7 separate regions of the Homo sapiens genome follow, and all the other regions are linked to region 3. The links are contacts of gene promoters, found by promoter capture Hi-C in blood cells and fetal thymus (Javierre and others, 2016). All regions are on one chromosome and are shown on one strand. The core of a region is centred on a gene start or on the middle of the fragment in contact, and the rest is flanking DNA. Distances in the headings are between cores, read along the strand shown. Region 1 overlaps LOC105379193 (a long non-coding RNA gene). Region 2 holds the start of REEP2 (receptor accessory protein 2). Region 3 holds the start of BRD8 (bromodomain containing 8). Region 4 overlaps ETF1 (eukaryotic translation termination factor 1). Region 5 overlaps HNRNPA0 (heterogeneous nuclear ribonucleoprotein A0). Region 6 has its middle 22 kb from the start of EGR1. Region 7 overlaps HSPA9 (heat shock protein family A (Hsp70) member 9).

The links. The method cuts DNA at HindIII sites, captures the fragments that hold promoters and counts their contacts. A CHiCAGO score of 5 or more calls a contact.
Region 1: a contact is called between a fragment that was not itself captured here and the fragment with the promoter of BRD8 in region 3, in 1 of 17 cell types (neutrophils). The highest score is 6.9, in neutrophils.
Region 2: a contact is called between the fragment with the promoter of REEP2 here and the fragment with the promoter of BRD8 in region 3, in 15 of 17 cell types (megakaryocytes, erythroblasts, fetal thymus and 12 more). The highest score is 19.0, in megakaryocytes.
Region 4: a fragment that was not itself captured here is called in contact with the fragment with the promoter of BRD8 in region 3 in 8 of 17 cell types (erythroblasts, megakaryocytes, neutrophils and 5 more); the score reaches 11.5 in erythroblasts.
Region 5: a contact is called between a fragment that was not itself captured here and the fragment with the promoter of BRD8 in region 3, in 2 of 17 cell types (naive CD4 T cells and non-activated CD4 T cells). The highest score is 6.1, in naive CD4 T cells.
Region 6: a contact is called between a fragment that was not itself captured here and the fragment with the promoter of BRD8 in region 3, in 3 of 17 cell types (fetal thymus, endothelial precursors and erythroblasts). The highest score is 6.8, in fetal thymus.
Region 7: a contact is called between a fragment that was not itself captured here and the fragment with the promoter of BRD8 in region 3, in 5 of 17 cell types (erythroblasts, neutrophils, M0 macrophages and 2 more). The highest score is 8.6, in erythroblasts.

What each region holds. Positions count from the first base shown.
Region 1 is chr5:138,581,905-138,585,637 of GRCh38, forward strand. It overlaps LOC105379193 (a long non-coding RNA gene), which reads left to right. Exons shown (of 3, transcript XR_001742900.1): 2 at 1,924-2,026; 3 at 2,891-3,185. Among named protein-coding and RNA genes, the nearest start is that of HSPA9, 8.4 kb to the left of the region's middle. The HindIII fragment of the contact is 9,043 bases long and covers 1-3,733 here.
Region 2 is chr5:138,436,922-138,440,832 of GRCh38, forward strand. REEP2 (receptor accessory protein 2) reads left to right here and starts at 2,136. Exons shown (of 8, transcript NM_001271803.2): 1 at 2,136-2,319. The coding sequence starts at 2,288. It overlaps KDM3B (lysine demethylase 3B), which reads left to right. Exons shown (of 24, transcript NM_016604.4): 24 at 1-106. RefSeq lists a silencer at 1,964-2,383 and an enhancer at 2,769-3,302. The HindIII fragment of the contact is 657 bases long and covers 1,741-2,397 here.
Region 3 is chr5:138,176,428-138,179,879 of GRCh38, forward strand. It overlaps BRD8 (bromodomain containing 8), which reads right to left and starts at 2,203. Exons shown (of 27, transcript NM_139199.2): 1 at 2,169-2,203; 2 at 1,144-1,240. The coding sequence starts at 2,187. KIF20A (kinesin family member 20A) reads left to right here and starts at 2,685. Exons shown (of 19, transcript NM_005733.3): 1 at 2,685-2,775; 2 at 3,233-3,418. The coding sequence starts at 3,254. RefSeq lists enhancers at 2,153-2,447, 2,155-2,204, 2,345-2,514. The HindIII fragment of the contact is 9,650 bases long and covers 1-3,452 here.
Region 4 is chr5:138,530,855-138,534,450 of GRCh38, forward strand. The region is part of intron 2 of ETF1 (eukaryotic translation termination factor 1); the gene reads right to left. Among named protein-coding and RNA genes, the nearest start is that of ETF1, 11 kb to the right of the region's middle. The HindIII fragment of the contact is 1,301 bases long and covers 784-2,084 here.
Region 5 is chr5:137,747,036-137,750,957 of GRCh38, forward strand. It overlaps HNRNPA0 (heterogeneous nuclear ribonucleoprotein A0), which reads right to left. Exons shown (of 1, transcript NM_006805.4): 1 at 1-3,922. Among named protein-coding and RNA genes, the nearest start is that of HNRNPA0, 5.4 kb to the right of the region's middle. The HindIII fragment of the contact is 3,508 bases long and covers 887-3,922 here.
Region 6 is chr5:138,485,261-138,488,705 of GRCh38, forward strand. No RefSeq gene overlaps it. Among named protein-coding and RNA genes, the nearest start is that of EGR1, 22 kb to the left of the region's middle. The HindIII fragment of the contact is 704 bases long and covers 1,025-1,728 here.
Region 7 is chr5:138,565,502-138,568,894 of GRCh38, forward strand. HSPA9 (heat shock protein family A (Hsp70) member 9) reads right to left here. Exons shown (of 17, transcript NM_004134.7): 6 at 2,148-2,221; 7 at 1,954-2,060; 8 at 1,500-1,662; 9 at 1,125-1,217. Among named protein-coding and RNA genes, the nearest start is that of SNORD63, 6.1 kb to the left of the region's middle. The HindIII fragment of the contact is 2,975 bases long and covers 183-3,157 here.

The DNA of each region.
Region 1 (3,733 bases), core at 853-3,352, 410 kb after region 3:
TGCCATTTTCCTGCCTCAGCCTCCCGAGTAACTGGGACTACAGGTGCCTGCCACCACGCCCGGCTAATTTTTTGTATTTTTAGTAGAGACGGGGTTTCACCATGTTAGCCAGGATGGTCTCTATCTCCTGACCTCGTGATCCACCCGCCTCAGCCTCCCAAAGTGCTGGGATTACAGGCGTGAGCCACTGCGCCCAGCCGGAATTAGTGCCTTTACAAGAGGAAACAGGAAAGATGATCTCCCCTTCCCCATGAAGAGAGCCCACACCAGAACCCACCATGCTGGCACCCTCATCTCAGACTTTCAGCCTCGGGAAGTGTAAGGAAGAACTGTCTATTGTTTAAGCCATCCAGTCTACAATATTTTGTTGTAGCAGCCTGAGCTGACCAAGACAGTTTCTCAGTTTCCCCATTCCTGTTCCTCAACTGTCAAGAGAGGAAATACCCAGGTTTCCTTAGGAGATGAGAGTTTAATGGAAGACTAGTTGGGAAAGTAAAGCCATTGTCTCAATACCCATACAGCCAGAATGCTGGAAGAACAGGGACTTCTTAGTCAGGCTCCATCAGGAGCTGTAGCGGCCAGTTACCTGTTTTCTTCTTAGAAATGGATTTCTGGTGTTCTCATCTGCACTGACTCTGCCTTTTTCTAGCTCAGCCTTTTTATGTTAGCTTCTCTAATTCTTGTGCTGCAATGGTACCCAAACTTCAGTAGCAGTCAGAATTACTAGGTGGTTCTTTAAGCATGCAGAGCACTGGTATCCCACCTCTGGACATTCAGGTCTGAGATGGGTCGTGGAATCTGCATGTTTAATAGAGGGGGATTCTGTCGGTGGGGTGGAGATTAAGGACCACGTCTTTTTAGAAATAGCCCAAACTCTGTGGTGTCTTCTTGTCTCCAAATTTTTTCATTACATGTCCCTATTAGAAAAATATTGGCGCACATCCTCCCATTATGTGTATGTTCATGTATTTATAAACTACATATGTGTATATAGTACTATTATTACAAATACATAAAAATAGAAAACAAAAATGAAAGAGATAAAATAGAAATAGATTTAAATACTTCTTTCCTGTACCCCAAAGTATCCCTGGGGCTGCTTGTACCACCCTTGCTGCCTTCCTCTGTGTGGCTTGATTACATCATCCCATATGGAAAGCCTTGTCGGGCAGAGTAAAGGCCCAGAAAAGTGCCAAGGTGTCACATGGGTCACTGGTTTACCTTACAGGCCCAGCCTTTAGTTTAAGTGCCAATTGCTTGTTTTATTCAACTAGTGGTTGAGGGGTTGGGTGAGAGGGCTTGTGTGTGTGTGTGCCATGACCTGAAGCAAGCCAGTTTACCTGGAAGGATCGCTTTGACGAGTTCTTCAAGGGAAAAGGGGATCTGCTTGCATAAGGGTCTCATGAACACCTCTCTTCCATAAAAAAATGAACTGTTTCTTTTCTTTTTTTTTTTTTTTTTGAGACAAAGTCTTGCTCTGTTGCCCAGGCTGGAGTACAGTGGCACGACCAAGACTCACTGCATCCTCCACCTTCCAGGCTCAAACAATTCTTGTGCCTCAGCCTCCCAAGTAGCTGGGACTACAGGCATGCGTCACCATGCCCAGCTAATTTTTGTGTTTTTAGTAGAGACGGGGTTTCACCATGTTGGCCAGTCTGGTCTCTAACTCCTGAGCTCAGGTGATTCACCCGTCTTGGCCTCCCAAAGTGCTGGGATTACAGGCATGAGCCACTGCACCCTGCCAGAATAAACTGTTTCTAAGCGTGCCAATGGGTAGAAGCCGTGAATGAGGCCATCCTGCCTGTGCTCTGCAACTTTGCATGGCTTCCCAAAGGAAGTCTGCTCTGTCCTAGGTTGTGTTGGGTGTGTGCATTGGTGTACATGTGTATGGTACTGGCCCACTTCTCTCTCATTCCATTACAGCATGAATCCCTGGCCTGAACTGGGGAAGTCACTTTCAGGATTAAAGGCAGCCAACAGAACATCAGCACCCAGAGCCCTGGAGAACAGCATCTGTGTTTGAGTGGTAAAGTGTCAACAGGCCGCTTAAGGAGGAGTGGTAACTGAGTCCCTGAACCCAAATACAATTCTTCCCTGGGGTCTGTCTGTGCATCTATCTGCTCTCGAGTATAGTCCCAGTTGCCAAAGACGTTTCACTTTTTCTGGTGTGTAATCTGTGGTTCATTGATATTGTCCTCTTGTTCTAGGACACCATTTTGTGAGTGGAGTATCATTTTCACGAGTTAGAGTGACCACACTGGCACTAGAGCTCAAAGTCAGAACTGGGAGAATCCCAGACACATTTCAGAAATCAAGTTACTAAGTAAATAGCAAAGAGCAATCTCCCTAAAAGGTTTATTTAGTTATCAAATACGGAAGGGGGTTTCCTACCTTCTTTTTTTCGAGTACTTTTCCTCCTGCTACGTAAAGACATTTACATTTTCAGCTTTCTTCGGTGGACCTAGGTATCTGAGTGCTGGTGTTCTTTGAGAGTACTCAAAGGCCAGAGAGAGTAGAATGTTCTTTGGAGAGCTCTGCAGAGGAGGGAGGCGTGGGGTGCTTCTCAGATTCAGGGCAGTCAGCAGCCATGTGTATATATCTATTTCCTTATTGGTAGGGAAATTTGAAAATAGATTATTTAGGGTTTTATTGTTTTTCATTTAGCTTTATACCATTGAAAATCTCTAGGACTGAAACATCATTTTTTTCTATCATTTTGTGTTCTGCTTATTTTGTTTACTATTGTCTAAAGATTTCTGCATGTCAACCTGGTCCCATATACTTGTCATTTTTAATGGCTAGCTATATAATCTTATTCCATAAGCTACATAAGTTTATTCCACTGAATGCTCTGTTCTTCCAAGTTTTTATTTATTTTTTATTTTTTCAGGGTATAGGGAGAGAGAGGCTGCATTTCTAAAATATCTCTGAGAACAAGCTGCTTTTCAGAATTCAAATCAACATGTGATCTTCTTCACTTTAGGGGTATATGCAGGAAGCCATTAGACACAACCAGGTATTGAATTGTCTTCCCTGAAGTCCGTGTCTGTGGGTCTGGCTGGGCCACTTGATGAGAAATCTCAGCAAGAGGTCTCAGACACCAAACTGGGGAAAAAATTAAACTGACAGAGTGCTTGATATTTCCAAGAAGTCACTTAGGTTCTGTGTATTACCGCAGCATTCAAAAGGGGGACATAGTTCAGTGCTGTGATTAAAGTGACTTTTGCCGTTAGCCTCTTTGTTCATGTAAGATATAATGGTGGGTTATAGCCATTTCATCATTTGGGGGTGTAATGGTTAGCTAAAGCTATTTTTCTCCAAAGGGCCAGTTATTTCTGCAGTTTTTCTCTAAAACTTCAGCTTTAGTGGGTAGGAGCCATAAATTCTGTGACATAGCTGCCTTCTTATCTGTCTTGGGAGTTATAGATTACAGATATAAGACAATTCATGTACCTCTGCATAATGAGGTGAGTTTTATAAATCATAAATCTTCACTTAACATGCAGGTGGTGTTGGGTGCCAGGTTTAGAAAAACTGATGTAGTTGCCAAGTTCATGAATGTCATAAATCATTCATGCTAAGGTAGCCCAGAATCATGCTGTCCTCTGAGGCAGACCAATTTCAAGGTTGTTGTTAAACACAAAAATGTGAGTCTCAGTGATTTTTTTTCAAAATGAACTGCACTTTTTTTGAAGATTAAAACCAAATTACCTTTCTTTTTTAAGTTGAAGTC
Region 2 (3,911 bases), core at 886-3,385, 260 kb after region 3:
AAAAGTCATTTAATGTAGAATACTTTTAATTTCACTTTCTGTATTTTAATTTTGTTGAAGGGCTGATTGGGATTTCCATGTTCTTATTAAAAATCTAACAAATCTGTTTGGAGTGGACTAAATTATTCGTGTACCAACCCTTCTAAAATCAACATCAGATTGGGAGTTGGGTTGGAGGTGGGGGATTCATTTCCAGGTCTTCATGACTGTGCTACACCCAGATATTTTTCTTTGCTTGTTGAGACTGTGCCATGTTAGAAAAAAGGAAAGTGCCAGGGTGAGGTCAGTATGGTTTGGGGAATTGGGGGTAAGGGGAAGGGGCCACATGAATTAGAGGGTAGAAAGAGAGACATGTTTCCCCATACTTTATGCTTTGTGAATGGAGTGGGAAAGTTGGGGTCCTCCCTTCCTGTGGCAGAGTCTGGGGGGAAGGGTCATGGTGTGTGGCCTCAGCAAAGTTGGACAGTCTGTGGTGGGATTCTTAAGCAGGCAGCCTGGCTGCCTACATGAAACGTGTGGCCATAGATCCACCTTAGAGATGGTGGGAGACACTCATGTGGGATTTATCAAGCAGTAATTAAAGTGTTTCATTGTGGGGTGATAACAGACTGCATTCCAATTAGGAGATGTTTTCTGGAGAGGAAGTTGTAAAGAATAGCAAGAGGGGTTATCAGAGGCTGCTTTTCTGGAACGTTTTGGGAAACATCTTCCAAAGTGTTTGAACCTGGAAATATAATTTACCAGGTTAGAAATAGACCATTGTGTTGTTCAGGGATACTGAGCTTGAATAAGACCATGACTCTTTGAAATACACAGTTCTGAATGTGTCCTTTCAGCCCAGATGGGCACAGGTTGATGCTGTGGTCACCCGAAGGATTACAACTCAACATAAAGGGTAGAGGAATGCAGAAGCTCTAAAATGGGACAGGAAAGGAGAGCAATAGGGCTGGGGGTGTTGGTGGATGGTTGGAGGTTGGTTGCTTTCCTGAAGATCAGGAGGCAGGCTAGCCTACATTCTGGATATAAATGTCTTTAGAATCAGGACATTCACTGCCACTAGTGCTTGCTGATGGGGGTGGAACTGGAGCCCCAGGACCCTCTCGCAGCCCCTCTGTTTGAAAAGAAGGTTGACCCTTTGTTGTCAGTAACCACATTGAGAGCATAAAGCTCTGTTCCGCTGCAAAGCTTAGGAGCTGACAACCTAAAAAAGCAGACCAGCAGCCCGGTGGCTCACACCAGTGATCCCAGCACTTTGGGAGGCTGAGGCGGGTGGATCGCTTGAGCTCAGGAGTTGGAGATCAGCCTGGGCAATATTGCAAAACCCCATCTTGGCAAAAAAAAACAAAAAACAAAAAAACAGGAATTAGCTGGTGGTGTTTTGGGCCTGTAGTCCCAGCTACTCGGGAGGCTGAGGCGGGAGGATCATTCAAGCCCAGGAGGTGTGCTGAGATTGTGCCACTGCACTCCAGCCTGAGCGACAGAGTGAGGACCTGTCTCAAAAAAACAAAACATCATCTGGTCAGGGGAGATCCTCTTTCAACGGGGTGAGAAGGAGTGGGGTGGACAGGTGCGGCTGTACCTGTGACTCAGGAGCTCAGGTGGATGTCTTCAGGGCCTGTAATGAGGAGAGTTTGCTAGTCAGCAGTTGGGGGATGTAACCTGTTTAAAGTAGGCTTCCTGGGGTCATCTTAGCAGCATGACTTGGTGGCTTTGTGACTCTCAACAGATTATTGAGCCTTAAGCTTCTCATTCCCTTATCTTCAAAATGAGGGCTTTTATAGCGCCTGCCTTATAGGGTGGTCAAGAGGATTCACTGGCAACGCAGTGAAGCTCTTAGCACAGGGGCTGGCACACAGTAAGCGCCTGGTGTGGGCAGGGCAGGAGGTGGGCAGGGGTCGATTTCAGGATGTAACCATGGAGACCTCCACGACAACAGCCTAGGGCTTGAAACCCAAGAAAGATGAACAAGCGATTCGAGGAAGGCAGGGCACTGAGGGTCGGAGGCGCATGCCCGGCCACAGCAGGTGCCGGGGCGGGGGCGCGCCGCCGCCGCCGCGGCGGCCTCCCGGCCTCCCCTTTAAGAGCCGCCACCGCCCACGGCCCGCCGCTGCGGCAGGGACCTCCCCTTTAACGGCGGCGCTGGGCGCTCCGCTGCCCCCGCGGCGGCTGCTGCAGCGGCTGCTGCTGCTACTGCGGCTCCTGCTGCCGCCGCCGCCGCCGCTCGGCCTCAGGCAGCTGCATCCTCGGCCGGGCCGGGTCCCCGCCCCGCGCCGCGCCCGGCCCCGCCATGGTGTCCTGGATCATCTCTCGCCTGGTGGTGTGAGTGCGGCGGCGGCGGGGGGTGATGCGGGCTGTGATGGAGGGCGGGGGTGTTAAAGCCCGGGTGGACTTCTCCGAAGCTTCGTGCAGCAGAGTCACCTAAAGGCGCTGCGTCCTTATTTGGGGCCCCCAGAGACATGGAGATGTGGCACCCAGGACTGGAGGGGGGAATATTAGGGGAGCGTGGCAGGCCTGGCTTCCCAGGGACCTCACCCACATTCTTTATTAATAACCTCTTTTATTTCTACCGTCCTTGCTCCTGCGCCCATCCTAGAGGCTGAGCAGCACGGCTTGATTTAAAAGGGGAGGCAGGCGCGTCCCCTCCCCCACCTAGCAGGTCTGGGCTGGAGGAGATCCTCAGACCCGGGCCCTGTCCCTCTGGGGGAGGTAACAGGGTGATGGAAGAGAGTGGAGCAAGGCAGGGCCTCATCATCATTCCGCAGCTCAGAGCCATCACCAGGCCCCTTGGTCTCTCCCTTCCACTCACTGTCAGGAGACTGGGGACGAGGGCATATGCCCTTAGGCCCCCTAGGGAGGAAGTCTGGGTATCGGGAAGCAGAAATGCTCGGAGGACAAAGTGTGAGAGGTAACTGGGAGAGGGGATGTGTGTGCTCAGCCTGGGATTGTGGACCCCGCTGGGGGAGGACGCTCCGTGGCCTTCATTCCAGGCTGCCAGCCACACTGTGGAGCTGTGTCTCTGGCACCTCCCCGGGCCCCAGGAGGGAACACACACCATTCCCCACGAGCCCAGACTTTGTCCTTGAGGATTCTGCTCCGCACTCCACTTGCACCAGCCGGTTTGGAAGTATCCCTCCTGTCCATGTGGAAACAGGCGACAGCCACACATTGTCAAGGGGCTGAGCCTGACAGGGGCTCCTCGTGGTTCTCGGAGCTATCCCCTGCCCTAATGAGGACACTGCCCCTCGGCCTCCACCGTTGGGGACTGACACCGGCAGCCCCACCCTGCTCCCTTCTTCCCATTCGGTACAGCCGGGCCGGCCAAGTGCTTCTGTCCTGGTTTACTCTAGACTCCTTCTCTTCCCCCACCCATCCCAGGGGGAATGGAGGGGCCTCACGCCTCCATGTGGCCTTCAGGGTGGCTGCTTCTCTCTTGCCTGGGCAAGCCCCAAAGGGCATCGGTCCTCTTCTTTCCCGGCCTGTGTCTTGTCTGCATTCTGTACTTGGATCACCAGCGGGGCCCTCCCCTGAGCCCTGTCCCTGTGGTGTTTACATGGGGGAATAAGCCTCTTTGCCTCTCTCAGGGCCTCCTGCCCCTGTGCCCTCTGTTCCCTAGGGCCCCAGGGCCACAGTGGTACCTCTGCCTGCCAGGTAGGGTGCCCTGTTAGGTGGTGTCAGGTTCCCTCGCAGAGCCTGGCTCTGAGGGAGGTGGAGGGTAAGGGCAGATGGGTGTGAATGGGCATGAGGTCAAGAAGGAAGACACCCTGTGGCAGTGACCTGACTCCCAGTCTCCATGACATATTTGTGTGTAACCAAGGATCATGGCGCAAGGGACTACATTGGACCCTCTGGCCTCTGGGCCTTTCCCTGCCTCCGGGGCTAGAGAAAAACTGAACAGTGGAGCGGGGAGGGGG
Region 3 (3,452 bases), core at 953-3,452:
CAGGCCACTCGTGGCGCATGGCTGTAATCCCAGCTACTTGGGAGGCTAAGGCACGATAATCGCTTGAACCTGGGAGGCGGAGGTTGCAGTGAGCCAAGATCTAACTACTACACTCCAGCCTGTGTGACAGTGAGACTCTGTCTCAAATTAATTAATTAATTAATAGAAAGTAGATGAGTGCTTGCTTGGGGGTGGTGAGGAGGGGACAACATGGACTGACAGTTAAGGAGTAAGGGGTTTTTCTTAGAATAAAATGTTCTAAAATTAGATTGTGGTGATGGTTGCACAACTGTGAATATACTAAAAACCATTATATTGTACATTTTAAGTAGGTTAATTTTATAGTATGTGAATTATATCTCAATAAAGCTGTTTAAAAAAAGAAATACAGCTGGCCTGGTGGCTCACACCTGTAATCCCAGTAGGTTGGGCGGATCGCTCGAACGCAGGAGTTCGAGACCAGCCTAGGAAACATGATGAAACCCCCATCTCTACAAAAAAATAAAAAAAATTAGCTGGGCATGGTGGTGTGCACCTGTAGTCCCAGCTACTCAAGAGGCTGAGGTGGAGGATCATTTGAGCCTGAGATATGGAGGTTGCAGTGAGCCAAGATCACACCACTGCCCTCCAGCCTGGGCCACAGAGTGCAATCTTGTCTCAAAAAAAAAAAAAAAAAAATAGGCCTGGCAGTGGCTCACGCCTGTAATCCCAGCACTTTGGGAGGCCGAGGCGGACAGATCATGAGGTCAGGAGATTGAGACCATCGTGGCCAACATGGTGAAACCCCGTCTCTACTAAAAATACAAAATTAGCCAGGCATGGCCAGGCGCAGTGGCTCACACCTGTAATCCCAGCACTCTGGCAGGCCGAGGTGGGGGGATCACCTGAGGTCAGGAGTTCGAGACCAGCCTGGCCAACATGGCGAAACTCTGTCTCTACTAAAAAATACAAAAATTAGCTGGGCGTGTCCGCACCACTGCACTCCAGCCTGGGCAACAGAAGGAGACTCAGTCTCAAAAAAAGAAGAAAAAGAAAAGAAAGTCTACTTACAGCTTAATATGATTAACTATAGAAATCTACCGATGTGAAAGAGTATCTAACAATTTCTAAGACCCAGAAAAGCTGACATCCTAGATACCTTACCAATTTTGATCGCCACTTCTCATGACAGAAGATGCTAAACATAGCTTCTCTCGGATGGACCATGGCTCTGTGGGGCCAGTGCTTAGCAGCTTGTGTTCTGGGAAAGGGAGAAAAAAAAAAAAGCCTTGGAAACAACCACTGAGACTGTAGTGCTAAGCTCCAAAATCCCCAAAAAGAGGACTAAAAGCCTAATACAAAACATCCCAACTTGTTAGGACAAAGTGAGCTACTATAACCAAATCTTGATTTTCACCTCTCCAAGTGAAATATCACCAGTGACCGGGGTACCTATTCGTTGCATGTGAATTATTAACATTTTATTTCTTAAAACGCCATGGCTTGAAGCTCCGCTTTATTAAGAAACAGGGAATGTCAGATTAGGCAGTTCTCCCTAAAAGCCCAGTTTTAAGAATACTGGACTTTATTCCAGTTTGAACTTATTCAGGGCTTATTTCCCAGGAACCCGAGCGGCCAGCCCCTCCTACTACCCCGCCTCCCTCTTAGCATAAACTTGTTTACTTCTCTCAGATCCTCTACTCCAAATGTCGGGGGTAAAAGAGCTTTTCAGTCCAAAAAAAGAAAAATGGCTGAAATCCCCGAGATGCAATTTCCTGAGTGGCAAGAAAAGCTCATGGTTAAAAGACCCCACTTCCACTGCCTCACAAACGTCAGACAAAAAAATGAATGGCTCTTTGAGGTGCCGGTTACTCCGTCTGGCTCATAACATCTTTTCGTCTGCACGCCCAAGTTTCTAGAGTGCTTTTACGGTTAACCCGCAGAGTTCCTAACACACTAGGATTCACTAAGCTGCTTCTCTCACACCTCCGCTCTCTCCCTGAGAAACAAGACCCCAGATTTCTGGGCCCCCAAACGTTGGTCTTCACGATGCTGTAGAGCGCAGGTCTCTGAAAACCCTGGGCTCTCAAGCAACCCACTTCTCCCACTCCCTAAGCGTGTAACAAAAATATGGTGCCTAGCCTCGGATCTACAAAGGCCTTTCACGCAAAACCTGCTCAGATACTCACTGCCCGTTCCCGTCGCCATCTTGGCCCCGAAGTCTCCAACCCTGAGGAGAGACGGTCTGGAAGGGCCGAAACCCTGGAATTCTGGGAAATAGTGTACCGGCGTTGGTTCGCGGTGCCTCCTGGGAAATGTCGTTTTTCCCCTTAAGACAAAGCAAGCACCCTAAACCAGTTACCCTGTGCACTCCTGTTAAGATTGTTGCTAAGGAAGGACAGGAGTTGGCTGCTGAAGCCTCAAGATTTCCTTTAGGCTCTTAGGTAAGAAATGTCTAAGGTTCAAGGAAAAAGGTTAAGTTGGAAGAATCCCAGGCAAAATAAGTGCGAATCCACGACAGTTGGTAACCCGGACCCACATTAGAACTCAGAGGTCAAGCAGAAGCGAACGACTGGAATTCCAGTCAGGCCCGCCCCCTTTCCTTACGCGGATTGGTAGCTGCAGGCTTCCCTATCTGATTGGCCGAACGAACGCAGCGCGTAATTTAAAATATTGTATCTGTAACAAAGCTGCACCTCGTGGGCGGAGTTGTGCTCTGCGGCTGCGAAAGTCCAGCTTCGGCGACTAGGTGTGAGTAAGCCAGTATCCCAGGAGGAGCAAGTGGCACGTCTTCGGGTGAGTGTGCGGCTGTGCTGGAGCCCGGGTTACCAGCTCTTGCCCGCGCGGAATAGGCTTTAAGAAATCGGAGCTGCAGCCATCTGTTTTTCTCTTAATGCTGCATCTCTGTTCTCACGGTGGTCCTTGGGGTGAGGTTAGAGAAGGAGCCGAGGGATCCTGACACCACCTCCACAGCACCGGCGGGCGAGGTGCCCTACTTTAGGCGTAGCCTTCTGCTTTTGGAGCCAGATGTCTGTGGACTTCTGTTCGCGTTCAGAAATGCCGCCTCAAACTTCTCTCAATTGTTCATTAAGTGAACTTCTCTCATTCCCTTCCCCTTTGCCGATAATTGGAGGGGAAAAGAAGTAGGAAGCGGGACACGGTGTCCTGGGGCAAGGGACTTATTACCTAAAATTCGCGGCCCCTTCTGTCCCTAAAGGTTCTTCTCCCTGCCCACTTTTTGGTCTCTTTTTAGACCTAGGCTGCCCCTGCCGTCATGTCGCAAGGGATCCTTTCTCCGCCAGCGGGCTTGCTGTCCGATGACGATGTCGTAGTTTCTCCCATGTTTGAGTCCACAGCTGCAGATTTGGGGTCTGTGGTACGCAAGAACCTGCTATCAGACTGCTCTGTCGTCTCTACCTCCCTAGAGGACAAGCAGCAGGTAAAGGAACTGGGGAGTGGCTGGGGCGGAAAGT
Region 4 (3,596 bases), core at 184-2,683, 350 kb after region 3:
GTGCCCGGCCTCAAATACGCAAGATTCTAATGCAGAACTAGGGTTGAGAATCACTGCATCTGGCTTGCTTTCTTCACAGGGTCATCTCTAGGTCTGCTGAAGGTAACAAGCCTCCACAACCTCACCTCCACCCAAAGAAGAAGAACCCAGAGCAGTTGCTTGCTGCATTTACCCTATGCTATGGTTTGAAGGTGTCCCCCCAAATTCATGTGTTGGAAACTTAATCCCCACTGCAATAGTATTGAAAGGTGGGGCATATGGAATGTGTTTAGGTTATGAGGGCTCTGCCCTCATGAATAGATTCATGCTGCTATTTAAAATAAGGTGCTTATAAGACCTGAGAGCTACAGTCACACGCGCACACAAAAAAGATAAAATAAGGTGCTTATAAGTAGTGGGCCATCTCTCTTTTGTTCTCTTGCCATGAGAGGAACAGTGTTCCTCCCCAACAAAGGATGCAGCGTTCAAGGTGCCATCTTAAAAGCAGAGAGCAGGCCCTTACCAGAACACCAATCTGTGGTATTCTGTTATAGCAGCACAAAAACAAAAATCAAAAAACCCCCAAAACCTAAGACAACCTAGCTATAATACAACCATAATGAATTGTGACAGCTCAGAGATACTCAACTTTACCAGCCCGAACACTCACTCCCCCTCAAGTACTCTGCCATCCAAGTCATCACTTGTAAATCACGTTAACTACTTTCAGGTTAGGACCAGGAACGTTTTAGACACTGCTTACTATACTCCCTAACCGGGATGTACAGTACATGCTCCCCAAGAAGCTTTCATCCCAGGGTTTGATGGCTGGGTTGTGCCTAGGCTATGGATGGCCAAATTTTTCACCACTTCCCTTTTCAAGCTCCCATCTGTGCCTGCCTCACAAAGCTCAATTTAAATCTCAGCCAGAGGCCAGGTGCAGTGGTTCACACCTGTAATCCCAGCACTTTGGGAGGCCAAGGTGGGCGGATCACGAGGTCAGGAGATTGAGATCACCCTGGCTAACAGGGTGAAACCCCATCTCTACTAAAAATGCAAAAAAATTAGCCGGGCGTGGTGGCGGGCGCCTATAGTCCCAGCTACCTGGGAGGCTGAGGCAGGAGAATGGTGTGAACCGGGAGGCGGAGCTTGCAGTGAGCCGAGATCGAGCCACTGCACTCCAACTTGGGCGACAGAGCGAGACTCCGCCTCAAAAAAATAAAATAAAATAAATAAATAAATAAATCTCAGCCAGATCATTTCTGGGAAAGTCACTAAGCCAGCAGTATTACATGGATCACCACCTGAAAATCAATCAGTTCCTCTTCAATTTCTACTCCATTTCCAAAACTGTCATTGTTTTATTCACTGTGTGTTTTCCATTTTTCTTCTCCCAAATTTGCAAAACTAAGTTTAAACTTTTAAACTAAGATGGTCTTTTTGATATGGGGTTAATATGGGAACAGAATAGGAGGAGCCCAGATTCAGGCTCACGTCCAGCTCTATCACTTAATGGCCGTGTGACCGAAGGCAAACCACACAAATCCCTGTGGGTCTGTTTCTACTTACTTCACAAGATCATGAGGATTCTACGAGATCATATATGTCAAGTGCCTAGCTTGGAGAGCAGATAGTAACTGATCACTAAATGGTAATGAGATGGAGCTCTAGTTCTTGACTATCGCCTCCCCTCCACCAGTAGTACCAGTTGGAAAGAAGTAGCACAGCCCAACTAGAAATGGGGAGGGGAGAGAGGTAATATCAGATGGGGTTGAAGTCTTATTTGAATCCTGTTAGGTCCTGAAGTATGAGCTGATTTTTTGTAGCAGATGATGGTCACCTTTACGGGATTACAGGACTTGCCAAATCTTCCACAGAACAAAAGAGCTATACCAAAAATAATATGGCCAGAACACTGGAAACTCTGTAATTTATCATAAGGGAGAACCATAGAAATTCATTCCTTTCTAAAACTTGTGTGGCATGAGTTCAGTATTCTGATATAACCTATGGCCAGTCTTCACAGGGACCTGATACTCAACTTCTCTTTTCTCTTCCACCAAGTATCAAACAATGAAACACATTGTTTACAGTAAGTGTATATAAGCTTCTTTTTTTTTTTTTGAGACGGAGTCTCACTCTGTAACCCAGGCTGGAGTACAGTGGCGCCATTTCGACTCACTGCAACCTCCGCCTCCCGGGTTCAAGCAATTCTCTTGCCTCAGCCTCCCAAGTAGCTGGGATTACAGACACGGACCACCACGCCTGGCTAATTTTTGCATTTTTAGTACGGAAAGGGTTTCACCATGTTGGCCAGACTGGTCTCGAACTCCTGACCTCTCCATCCACCTCAGCCTCCCAAAGTGCTGGGATTACAGGCGTGAGCCACCGGGCCCAGCCCAAGTGTATATAAGCATCCTGAGGGCAAAAATCATTTTAGCACATAGTGGTGCTCAAACATTTGAAAAATGAATAAATGGCCAATTCCTACCATCATCTCTATATACTCTTTTTTAAGCAAACACCAGAGATTTATTCTAAACTACCAAATAAAATACCAATAAAAAAATCTGGCCGGGCACAGTGGCTCACGCCTGTAATCCCAGCACTTTGAGAGGCCGAGGCAGGCGGATCACGAGGTCAAGAGATCGAGACCATCCTGGCCAACATGGTGAAACCCTGTCTCTACTAAAAATACAAAACTTAGCTGGATGTGGTGGCACGCACCTGTAGTACCAGTTACTTGGGAGTCTGAGGCAGAAGAATCGCTTAAACCTGGGAGGCAGTGGTTGCGGTGAGCCAAGATCGCACCACTGCACTCCAGCCTGGAGACAGAGCAAGACTCCACCTCAAAAACAAAACAAAACAAAAACCAACAACAAATTGTCAGTCCTTGGAGAGGAACTAATGTGCCTTAAATTGACTAACTGTCCCCATCTTTCACTGCACCTAAAAGTTCAAACCATCATACTATATTAGGCGTTTACCTTAAGAAAACCAGCACTAAACAAAACCAACCCTTATGAAGTGTCATTTTAATTTTGTTGATCCTCACATTAATGCCACCCCACTCCCTCTGCTACTACCATCTATGAGGCATGTTAGGAGGTGGATGGGGCTGCCTTTTATAAAAGGTTTAGTTAGACTATCAAATTAGGAGGGATGATTCTGTTACCCTTCAAAGGGACTAGGAAAGTTACCTGAAATTAGTTTATGCAATTGACCTTAGAGTCAGATGCTATTACCAAATGGGAGAAATACCAAGACCGGAACTTACTGAGACATTACAGCAACCTCCACCCTAGGGTACAGAATAACTCAGATGTCCAAACATTTTCAGAATAAAGTTCACAAAGGTTCATTTTAGCTTTCTGTCCCCCAGAGAACAAAGATTTACTCAGTCATCTAAAACAAAAATGTACACATCTGGTAGAGTGTGTACACTTTTTCTACAATGATAGGCATTATTAGTCTTAAAAAGAAAAATTAAAAGATCTTCACAAACCCAGTGGAATATTCCACCAGGAAGCAGCTTTGAAGCTGGAAAATTTCTCTAGTGTTCTTACAACAGTGCAAAGCAAGAGACTGCAATCACAACCAGTGTTCGGGATTCATTA
Region 5 (3,922 bases), core at 1,391-3,890, 430 kb before region 3:
ATGGGCACAGTTAAGGCAAATCAACAAGGTTTGAACCTTCTTGGGACTAGAGAATCTAGCAATAGGAGACAGTTACGAGAAGCCAGAAAAGACCTAGAGCTATAAGAGGGCCACTGGAGCAGAGCTGTGGCCACTCACAATCTCTTGCTAAGTATATGAGAAAGAGAAGGAGCAAATATTTCAGCCTCACTTTTCTATCACTGTCCAAACCCACCATGAATAAAGCCAGAAAAGAGAGTATGCAGTTCTTTATTTGTCAGCCTCCCAGGAACACAGAACAAGAGAGATAAAGATGGAAAATAGATCAGGAAGGGCAAAAAGAATATCCAGCACAATGGCCATTTTGTAAAGCTATATGCGCAAGACACAATGCTTCAATGTGCTACCAGCATCTTCAACTATGTCCAAATCTTCCCTCTAAATCTTCTCTTCCTATTACCAGTGGCATCACCATCCTCTCACACAGTAATTTTGATTAATCTACTCTCTCTTCCTCATTCTTCATATATCCAAATATTTGTCAATTATGCTTTCACAACTTACCTCAACTTCTTTGTCAGTCTATTTCCATTGCTCTTTGTTCATGCTCTCATTCTCTTACCTGGTTAACATCAGTTGTCTTAGCAAACTTGCCACTTTGAAACATCCCCCACTGCCATTTATGTTACTCAGTGCTACTGGACTAATCTTTGTGAATTAGTTTCACTACCATTATTGTTGCTCAAAAACCTTTAATGACTTTTACTGCCTACCCTAAGTCCAAACTCCTTAGCCTACTACTCAAAGACCTCAGTAACCTGGTTCCAACTTCATTTTCTCAATTTATTTCTCACAACTCTCTTTTATCTTAGTACAAATTAGACATTTGTTAGCTGGAAGTCAATGAAGCTTAGTAGAAGGAGCGAAACAACTAGAATTGGTCAAACTTGGATTCAACTCTCAGTTCTACCATGTCACCAGCTGGGGGTCCTTGGGAGTTACTTTTCTGGCATGAGATTTAGCAACCTTATCTGTGAAGGTTACTGAATGATGCAATGAGAACATTTGTAAATGTACCTAGTGTTTGGCATCCAATATGCATACTTCTCCAAATACGCTCCATGTTTCTGCCTATCTGTCCTCCACCTAAAATGCCCTCTTTCTCCTCCCACCTTCTCTATAAGACCTATCTTTTAAGGTTAAATGTTATATGCTCCACAATGCCTCTCTTGATCCTTCTTCCTACCTGAAGTCACCTCTCCTCAACACTCACATTATTTATACCTTCCTAATATTAACAAATACTTAAAACATTACAGATGGCTAGCAGAATTCATCTCTCTCCTACTAGAGTTGAAGCAGCAGTGATTTAGAGAACTACCACATGGAAGCTCACCCAGCAAGTAAAGAGCAAAGCCTAAAGACCATGCATATCTCGGGTACTAAGATATAAAAGTATGCCTTTTGCTAGTCTGTCCCACCTCTTCATTAGGGGCCATATAGTAAAATTACTGTGTACCAGAGACTACAGTAAGCCCTTCTTTATATGCATTCTTTCACTGAATCTGCCCAACAATCCTATGTAGCAGGTATTACCATAGCCTATTTTTTTACAAATAAGGCAAGTGAGGCTCGGGCCAGTTTGTCCAAGGTCGCAGTGCTAGAAAGTGACTGTGTCAGGAACAGAATTTGGTCTATTGGATGCCCAAATTTACGTCCTTAAGGGCTATGAAATATTAAATCAGATACCCACTATGAAGCAAATTACATTTGCAACGTAAGCATCAAAGACAAAATACACCTTTGATTTCTAAAAAGTAATCAATTAAGGAGAAAAGAGTCTTAATTTTCATCAGAGAATGTACATTCAATGACAATGGAGCTAACTCCAATTTTGATGGTGTGAACAATATGAGATTGTGACACAATGCTGTAAAGGAAAAGATGCATCATCTCAAAATAAATTGAATTCCCATTTCAAAATAAATTGAATTCCAACCAGAACGCAAGGTATATGAAGACAGCAACCATGTTTGTCTCACTGCTGTGTACCTCCACATTATAGAACTGTCTTACACAAAGGTGCCTAACACCCAATGAAATTGACGGTAAACACTGGGAAATAAGCACACTGTTTAAATGGCAAAAGTTTACACTTGAGAACTTTATAGCAGGAAATGATAGCTATTTCAGATAGATTTTTTAAGTAAACCATACAAAGTGGTAAAAGAATTAAAGAGACAAAGAAAGCCTGCCTGAATAGAGAAGGAAACAGTTAAGAATAACTACCAAAGGTGTCTTCCTGAATCCTTTCCCTCTCTGAAGGTTCAAATCATCTGGCTTCAAATCAAAGTAAAAAAAATAGGTGGAAAATAGAGAATTGCCCTTCTAGTCTTCCTACTTTGGAATTCCTTTTTAAATAGCAGCTTTCAAATATCTTTTTATAATAAATGTTTTACCTTGTAACATTTAAATTCTCATTCAAGGCAAATATGAAGTTCACTCAAAAGCAGGACAGCTAAGGAGTTATTTGACTAGGCAGTCTTTGTTGCTGTTTCAAAAGGCCAAAATAAGGCTGAGGAGGAAAATTTCCCCAATGATCACTCTTAAAGTGATTCAATAAATTGGTTACGATGGAGAAAGACACTTAGCCTAAGTGCAAGTGCTGTCTTTTTGGGTAAAATCCGTGTAGTCTAGATGCAGTTCTGCTCCAAATCCAACATCCAAATGCCTATCTGCAATCAGCAGACGCGGGCAGACAAAATTTAACCTAAAATGCAAACTCTCAAAACTTAAGCACACTTAAAAGGTAAACTAAGTTTACAAATCCAATAACTGATACCATCACTTCTGGTTTTGAAGGAAATCATAAATGCAAATTTCTCAAGTATCCTCAATCTTTTAGGTTTACTTAAAAATTATGAAAATTAGATTTGAATATGAAACGTTCCAAATCACTAAGTTAAAAATGGATGAATGGGTACAATCAGTATAGTCATTCTGATTTGATAGTTATCACTGTGAACCTTAACCACTTGCAGGCTTTTTTTTGGATACAGTAAATCAGTACCAATGAGAGCTTTTTAAATGACCTGAAAAACACTACAGATATTCCAATCAAAAAATCTAAAATGCTCCAAAATCCGAAATTTTTTGAGTGCAGACATGACATTCAAAGGAAATGCTCATTGAAGCAGTTTGGATTTTACATTTTTGTATGAGAGCTGCTCAGCTGGTAAACATAATGGAAATATTCAAAAATTGAAAAAAATCTAAAACTCAAAACACTTCTGGGCCCAAGAATTTCAGATAAGGAATACTCAACCTGTATCATCTCTAACAGCCTTTCAAACCACTTTCAACTAATGACTACTGAATTTATACTTTTAAAAGAATGTAAATGCCAAAGATCTTCACATTAAGATGAAAAATAGGAGGTTCACTTTTATTTTGCTAATCCGTCAAAATACATTCAAGCATGGCACAAAAATTATATTCAACACTAGGTTCTGTACCACCTGCTCCCATGAACTCTTAAATCTGAATAATGTTCAGATAATTTTCATAGGTGGAAGTGGTCAAAACATACAACCAATTGTCCCTCCTCCCCAAGTCCCACATGCCAAAATGTTTGCATATAAACTGACAAGAGGAACCCAGAAGTGACTAAATACCACTATGCTTTTTTCTTCACTACAAATAGCAATTTTAAGGGTAGACACATGACAATGAAGTGTTAATATACCATGAACAGAACAGGTTGCCTTCCTAATACACAGAAAATCCTTTTACATAATTCATTTGCAAACTTTAGAAGCCACTATATTCCCATGTTGGGAATAATATGACAACCTTATTAAACTGAAAACCCTGAGAAAGGTGTACTATTCCAATTGACCCAGATCTTCCCACCAAAACTGAGTAAGTCAAGCAGAGTAGTATT
Region 6 (3,445 bases), core at 127-2,626, 310 kb after region 3:
TGTCTCTGAAAAAAACCCAGATTGATTGATGGGTCCAAGTATCACTGGCATTACAAAGTTTCTCTATACCTTTCATGCAATGGTTACAGAAATCTCCGATGATCAATGATCCTTATCTAAATCTATTATCTCATTAGGGGTTAAAAGGGTGATTTTATTTATTTTTTGTTTTTCTATTTTTTTGAGATGGAGTTTCGCTCTTGTCACCCAGACTGAGCACAATGACGTGATCTCGGCTCACTGCAACCTCCTCCTCCCAGGTTCAAGCGATTCTCCTGCTTCAGCCTCCTGAGTAGCTGGGACTACAGGTGCACGCCATGATAACCGGCTAATTTTTGTATTTTTGGTAGAGATGGGGTTTCACCATGTTGGCCAGGCTGGTCTTGAACTTCTGACCTCAAGTGATCTGCTCGCCTTGGCCTCCCAATGTGCTGGGTTTACAGGCATGAGTCAATGTACTTGGCCAAAGGGTGATTTTATAATTCTATCATTCCGTTTGCATTTGTTAGCCAGAATTTTTCTAGACTAAATCATAATTGTAAAGAAAGCACGATAAATACTCAAGTCTCTTCTTTCATTTGTCAAATGACAATATTTTGTACTTTCCTGTATGGAACCCCAAAGACATTCTGAATGTCAGCTGGGCGCAGTGGCTGACACATGTAATTCCAGCACTTTGGGAGACTGAGGCGGGCGGATCACGAGGTCAGGAGATCGAGACCATCCTGGCTAACACGGTGAAAACCCATCTCTACTAAAAATACAAAAAATTAGCTGGGCATGGTGGCGAACGCCTGTAGTCCCAGCTACTCGGGAAGCTGAGACAGGAGAATGGCGTGAACCCGGGAGGCGGAGGTTGCAGTGAGCCGAGATCGTGTGACTGCACTCCGGCCTGGGCGACAGAGCGAGATTCCGTCTCAAAAAAAGAAAAAAAAAAAAAAGAAATTCTGAATGTCTACATGGTCAAGGCTCTCCATGGAGTTGCAAATAAAAAATTATGATCCTGGCCTGGTGCGGTGGCTCAAGCTTGTAATCCTAGCACTTTGGGAGGCCGAGGTTGGAGGATCACCTGAGGTCGGAAGTTCAAGACCAGCCTGACCAACATGGAGAAACCCTGTCTCTATCAAAAATACAAAATCAGCCAGACGTGGTGGCGCATGTCTGTTAATGCCAGCTACTCGGGAGGCTGAGGCAGGAGAATTGCTTGAACCCAGGAGGCAGAGGTTGTGGTGAGCCAAGATTGCGCTATTGCACTCCAGCCTGGGCAACAAGAGCGAAACTCCGTCTCAAAAAAAAAAAAAAAAAAAAAAAAGGATTATGATACTGGAGACAGAAAACAAAAATAAATCCAATCTTGACTTGGAAAACTACAGGGTGTCTACTTAATGCCTCAGAGCAATACTGTACTCTATAAAATTCCTCCTAACCTTTCCTTTCTACCCCCTCTCTTTCCCTTCTCTCTTCCCCTTCCTTGTTCTTTATTATATAGATGGATTTAGCCTCTCTGCCTAAGTCCTTCTTTCTCCCAGCCTCTCTAGCTCTCCATCTCCTCCTGTCTCTAACCAGCACCCTCACCCACTCATTTTGATTCTGCATCACAAAAGATGCCGGACTGGGGATGGCTGAGAGCAGACTCTTGGAGTTGGGAGTGGGCATGAATTCTGAGCTGGAAACCTTTTGTGGATGGGTGAGAGGAGAGAAAACAGGGAGAAACACTCAAACTAATGAAGCTTATTTCCATCACATGTATTTTCTGCAATGAGCATGAATCACATATGGTGGAATAAAAAATAAATAAATAAAATGTTTTAAAAATAAGAGATGGTAGGGAAGGAAGTAAGCACTATTCTTTCTCAATTTCCAGTTCCCCTTCTTCTCCATACAGACTGCAGCATCCTTGGCTTTCTGTTCCAGGGCAAGTGAAGTGGAACCTTTCCTCTGACTCAGGATTTAAAGTGTTTCCCACCCCCTCAGGCCCACAGCGTGGGTGGCAGCCTTGGAGTCATGCTCCTGTCACCATGCAGAGGAGCTCTGTGAGCTATGGGAGCCAGGCTGGCTAAAGGCCTTCAGTGATAGATGAGAGGTCTCCCTGATTTTTTTGTTTGTTTGTTTGTTTGTTTTTTTGAGATGGAGTCTCGCTCTGTCACCCAGGCTGGAGTGCAGTGGCGCGATCTCGGCTCACTGCAAGCTCCATCTCCCGGGTTCACGCCATTCTCCTGCCTCAGCCTCCCCAGTAGCTGAGACTACAGGCACTCGCCATCACGCCCGGCTAATTTTTTTTATTTTTAGTAGAGATGGGGTTTCACCATGTTAGCCAGGATGGTCTAGTTCTCCTGACCTCGTGATCCACCCGCCTCGGCCTCCCAAAATGCTAGGATTACAGGCGTGAGCCACCGCGCCCGGCTGAGGTCTCCCTGATTAAAACTGCTGGGCTTGGCTGGGCCCGGTGGCTCATGCCTGTAATGCCAACACTTTGGGAGGCCAAGGCAGGTGGATCACTTGAGGTCAGGAGTTCGAGACTAGCCTGGCCAACATGGTGAAACCCCATCTCTACTAAAAATACAAAGATTAGTGACCATTTGTGTGGTGCAGTTGGTTGGTGTGCTTGCCTCCAACTCTGGAGATGGGCGCCCATTCTGGGGAGTTTCTCTTGCATTTTGGCCAGGCACGGTGGCTCACGCCTATAATCCCAGCACTTTGGGAGGCCAAGGTGGATGGATCACGAGGTCAGGAGTTCAAGACCAACGTGGCCAACATGGTGAAACCCCGTCTCTACTAAAATACAAAAAATTAGCCGAGCATGGTGGTGCGCACCTGTAGTCCCAGCTGCTGGCTAAGGCAGGAGAATCACTTGAACCCCAGAGACAGAGATTGCAGTGAGCCGAGATCACACCACTGCACTCCAGCCTGGCGTGGTGGCACGTGCCTGTATTCCCAGCTACTCAGGAGGCTAAGGCAGAAAAATCACTTGAACCTGGGAGGCGGAGGTTGCAGTGAGTGAAGATGGTACCACTGCACTCCAGCCTGGGCAACAGAGCAAGACGTGGTCTCAAACAAACAAACAAACAAACAAAAAACTGCTGGGCTCTCCAGCCTCTTCTCCAAGAAGCACCTCCTTGGGTCTTCAGGAGATCTCCCGAGGCTGTTCAATGGAGACATCTTGGTCTCTTAGGAAAATTTCAAGGCTTGGGAAGGGTAGTGGAGACCTCTCAAGTCTCCTGCTTCTGGAGTCCGGGTTGGGAGAGAGAGTCCAGTTGACAGCCAGAGTCCCAAGACACAGGGCCCCGTATCACCCATGCCTATCTGTCCACGCCCCATACATGCTCTGGTGGCAAGTGTGAACAAACAAAGTGAACAGCAGCCAAGTTTTAATCTGTGTGTGGAGCACTAGGGAAATGTAGGTGTGGGCAGATTTTTGTGGTCTCAGCCTATCTGAGCAGGAGCC
Region 7 (3,393 bases), core at 420-2,919, 390 kb after region 3:
ACCCAAGACACCGGAAATAGATCTGCTGCTTTCTATCTTCATGGGTCTCTAACACAGATCTAAAATGGTTTATATAATTCTATTCTTGGTGGTGAAGACAAGTTTCACCTCTCAGAACTGGAGCTAACCAAACTGACAAAGAGGCTGTGTAAATCTGATGCTCACAGACGGAAACTTGCACAAGCTTCAGCTCTTTTTCTAGACTGGTGATTCAAATTATTGTCATTTTTTGACACAGGGTCTCATTTGTCACCCAGGCTGGAGTGAAATGGTGTGATCACGGCTCACTGCAGCCTCAACCTCCTGGGCTCAAACAATCCTCTTAGCCTCTGGAGTGGCTGGGACCACAGTTGTATAGACTATGACCAGCTAATTTTTCAAATTATTAAGTGAGAGACAATTAGCCGGGCTCAGTGGCTCACGCCCATTATCCCAGCACTTTGGGAGGCCGAGGCAGGTCAATCACCTGAGGTCAGGAGTCCAAGGACCAACCTGGCCAACATGGCAGAACCCTGTCTGTACTATAAATACAAAAATTAGCCAGGCATGGTGGTGCACACCTGTAATCCCAGCTACTTGGGAGGTCGAGGCAGGAGAAATCACTTGAACCCAGGAGGCAGAGGTTGCGGTGAGCCAAGATCACGCCATTGCACTGTAGCCTGGGCAACAGGAGCAAAACTCTGTCTCAAAAAAAAAAAAAAAAAAAAAAAAAAGACACTCAGAGACTCTCCAATTCACAAGGAGAGAGGTTATTTAATATTGTCAGTTAAGACAGCAGTTTTTCCAAGCTAGTAATTCTAGTTTTAAACACTGCCAGAGCAGGTTTTAAAATAAATGTCTTTAACTGAAAGGCAAACAAGTACACCCAGCACATCATTCACACATTATTTAGCTCCAGTATATGTAACTGATTTGAGTGGCTAAAAAAATTTCAGCTCATAAAGAAACTAAAGACCTTACTGTCCCTGTGCTCATGGCAAAGGTCTCTAGAAACCAGAAAACTGAAAAAACAAACAAACAAAAAAAACTCAACTGACATTAGGCCAATTAGAAAATACTATTTATTTTAAATAAGCTCCGGCTGAAAATATCCATCAAGACTGCTCGAATTTTCCGTGTCTCACCTGCACAGATGAGGAGAGTTCACATTTAGCCTTTTCAGCAGCTTCCCGTACCCTCTGAAGTGCCATGTTGTCTTTAGTCAAATCAACCCCTGTCTATAAAGTGAAGACATTGAACACCAAACACCAGCATTAGTGAGGTGATAAATAAACTGCAGTAATAAGGTGGAACAACACAAAATGGAGTCATACCTTTATATATAAGCATGAATTACTTTTTATTACCCTTAATGTGTAGGGAAAAAAAATATTCTGAAAAGAGTATCTGTGTCTAGAATAAGGGGGTTGAACTGAACTCGTAAACAAAGCAAAGAGCAATCTGAACAAAGAATTTCTCAATATCCCAACGTCTACATATTAACCACATTGGTAACTCACCTCTCTCTTGAACTCCTTCACAATGTGCCGTAGCAAGGCCTGGTCAAAGTCTTCCCCACCTAAGAAGGTATCCCCATTTGTGGATTTCACCTCAAATACTCCTTTCTGAATTTCCAGGATAGAAATATCAAAAGTTCCACCACCTAAATCATATACAGCAATGCTGTAAATGATTTGTGAAAAAAAAAAGAAAAGAAATCCTTAAGAACAAAACCTATCACCAGGATATAAATTTCAATAACCAAATACAGATAATCTAAGCTATTTCCCTGAGATATGTACTAGTTAAATTACCATGGCCCAAAAGAAAAGAAAAGAATGGTTTTGAAATGAAAAAACAAAGACAATACAGACTTAAAATCAGTAAAAGCACTGTAAAAGGCTCAATTACTAAAAAATTAAGTGACACTTTAGTTTCACACATCCAGGTGAGAAATTTACTGCACAAACTTACACTTTGTCTTCTGATTTGTCTAGACCATAGGCAAGAGCAGCAGCTGTGGGCTCATTAATCACCCGAAGCACATTCAGTCCAGATATCTGGCCAGCATCTTTAGTGGCCTAGAGAAAACAAAGAGAAAAACATTTTTGTACCCTTCCATCCCAGGCACCTTACTTTTTGTGAATAAGAATGCTAATTGACCTCACCTGTCTCTGCGAGTCATTGAAATAAGCTGGGACTGTGATCACAGCATTTTTTGCTGTGTGCCCCAAGTAATTTTCTGGAAAAGAATGAAATTCAATCATGGAATTCTGTCAGAACAGAATTATTAATATAGCCCAACAACCTGTGTCATCCTTTTGCAGCCACAGACAACATTCTTCAGTCTTTTGGTAAGTGACCTAATATGTCCTTGCAGGAAACACTCCAAGTAAATACACTGGTTAAAAACCCAAGATCAGGCCGGGCACGGTGGCTCACACTCGTAATCCCAGCACTTTGGGAGGCTGAGGCGGGCAGATCACCTAAGGTTGAGAGTTTTGAGACCAGCCTAACCAATATGGAGAAACCCCATCTCTACTAAAAATACAAAATTATTCAGGCATGGTGGCGCATGCCTGTCATTTCAGCTACTCAGGAGGCTGAGGCGGGAGAATTGTTTGAACCTGGGAGGCGGAGGTTGCAGTGAGACAAGATCGCACCACTGCACTCTAGCTTGGGCGACAGAGCGAGACTCTTGTCTCAAAACAAACAAACAAACCCAAGATCGGCCGGCCAGGCACGGTGGCTCATGCCTGTAATCCCAGCACTCTGAGAGGCTGAGGCGGATGAATCACCTGATTTGTCGGGAGTTGGAGACCAGCCTGACCAACATGAAGAAACCCCCATCTCTTTACTAAAAACACAAAAGTGGCTAGGCATGATGGCGCATGCCTGTAATCCCAGCTACGTTGGGGGGGAGGGAGAGGGCAGGATAATCGCTTGAACCCGGGAGGCGGAGGCTTTGGTGAGCCGAGATTGTGCCACTGCACTCCAGCCTGGGCAACAAGAGTGAAACTCTGTCTCAAAAAACAACAACAAAAAAACCCCAAAAAACAGAAACCCCTAAGATCACTCTTTCAACATTTTAGTGAAGGTTCACTAAACTACAATGACCTTTAGACTTACAACAGCCACTTCAAATAGGAAGTTCTAATTTATACCTAACAGGGACAAAAGCTTAATGTGTAGTCTTGTGGCTTTCAATATAGAACATTACCCCCTACTGGAAAAAAAGAAACAAGCCAGCCACCATTAGTGAGATTTGAAGATTAATTCAATCTGCAGGGAAAGCATGAAGTATAACACAGTTTTGCCATTCCTAGTTTTTCTATACAAAAGGGACCACAGATTCATCTACAGGAGCTGGAGCACAGGGAGCTAGTGATCTCACAGGAATCATTGTTCTTAGAA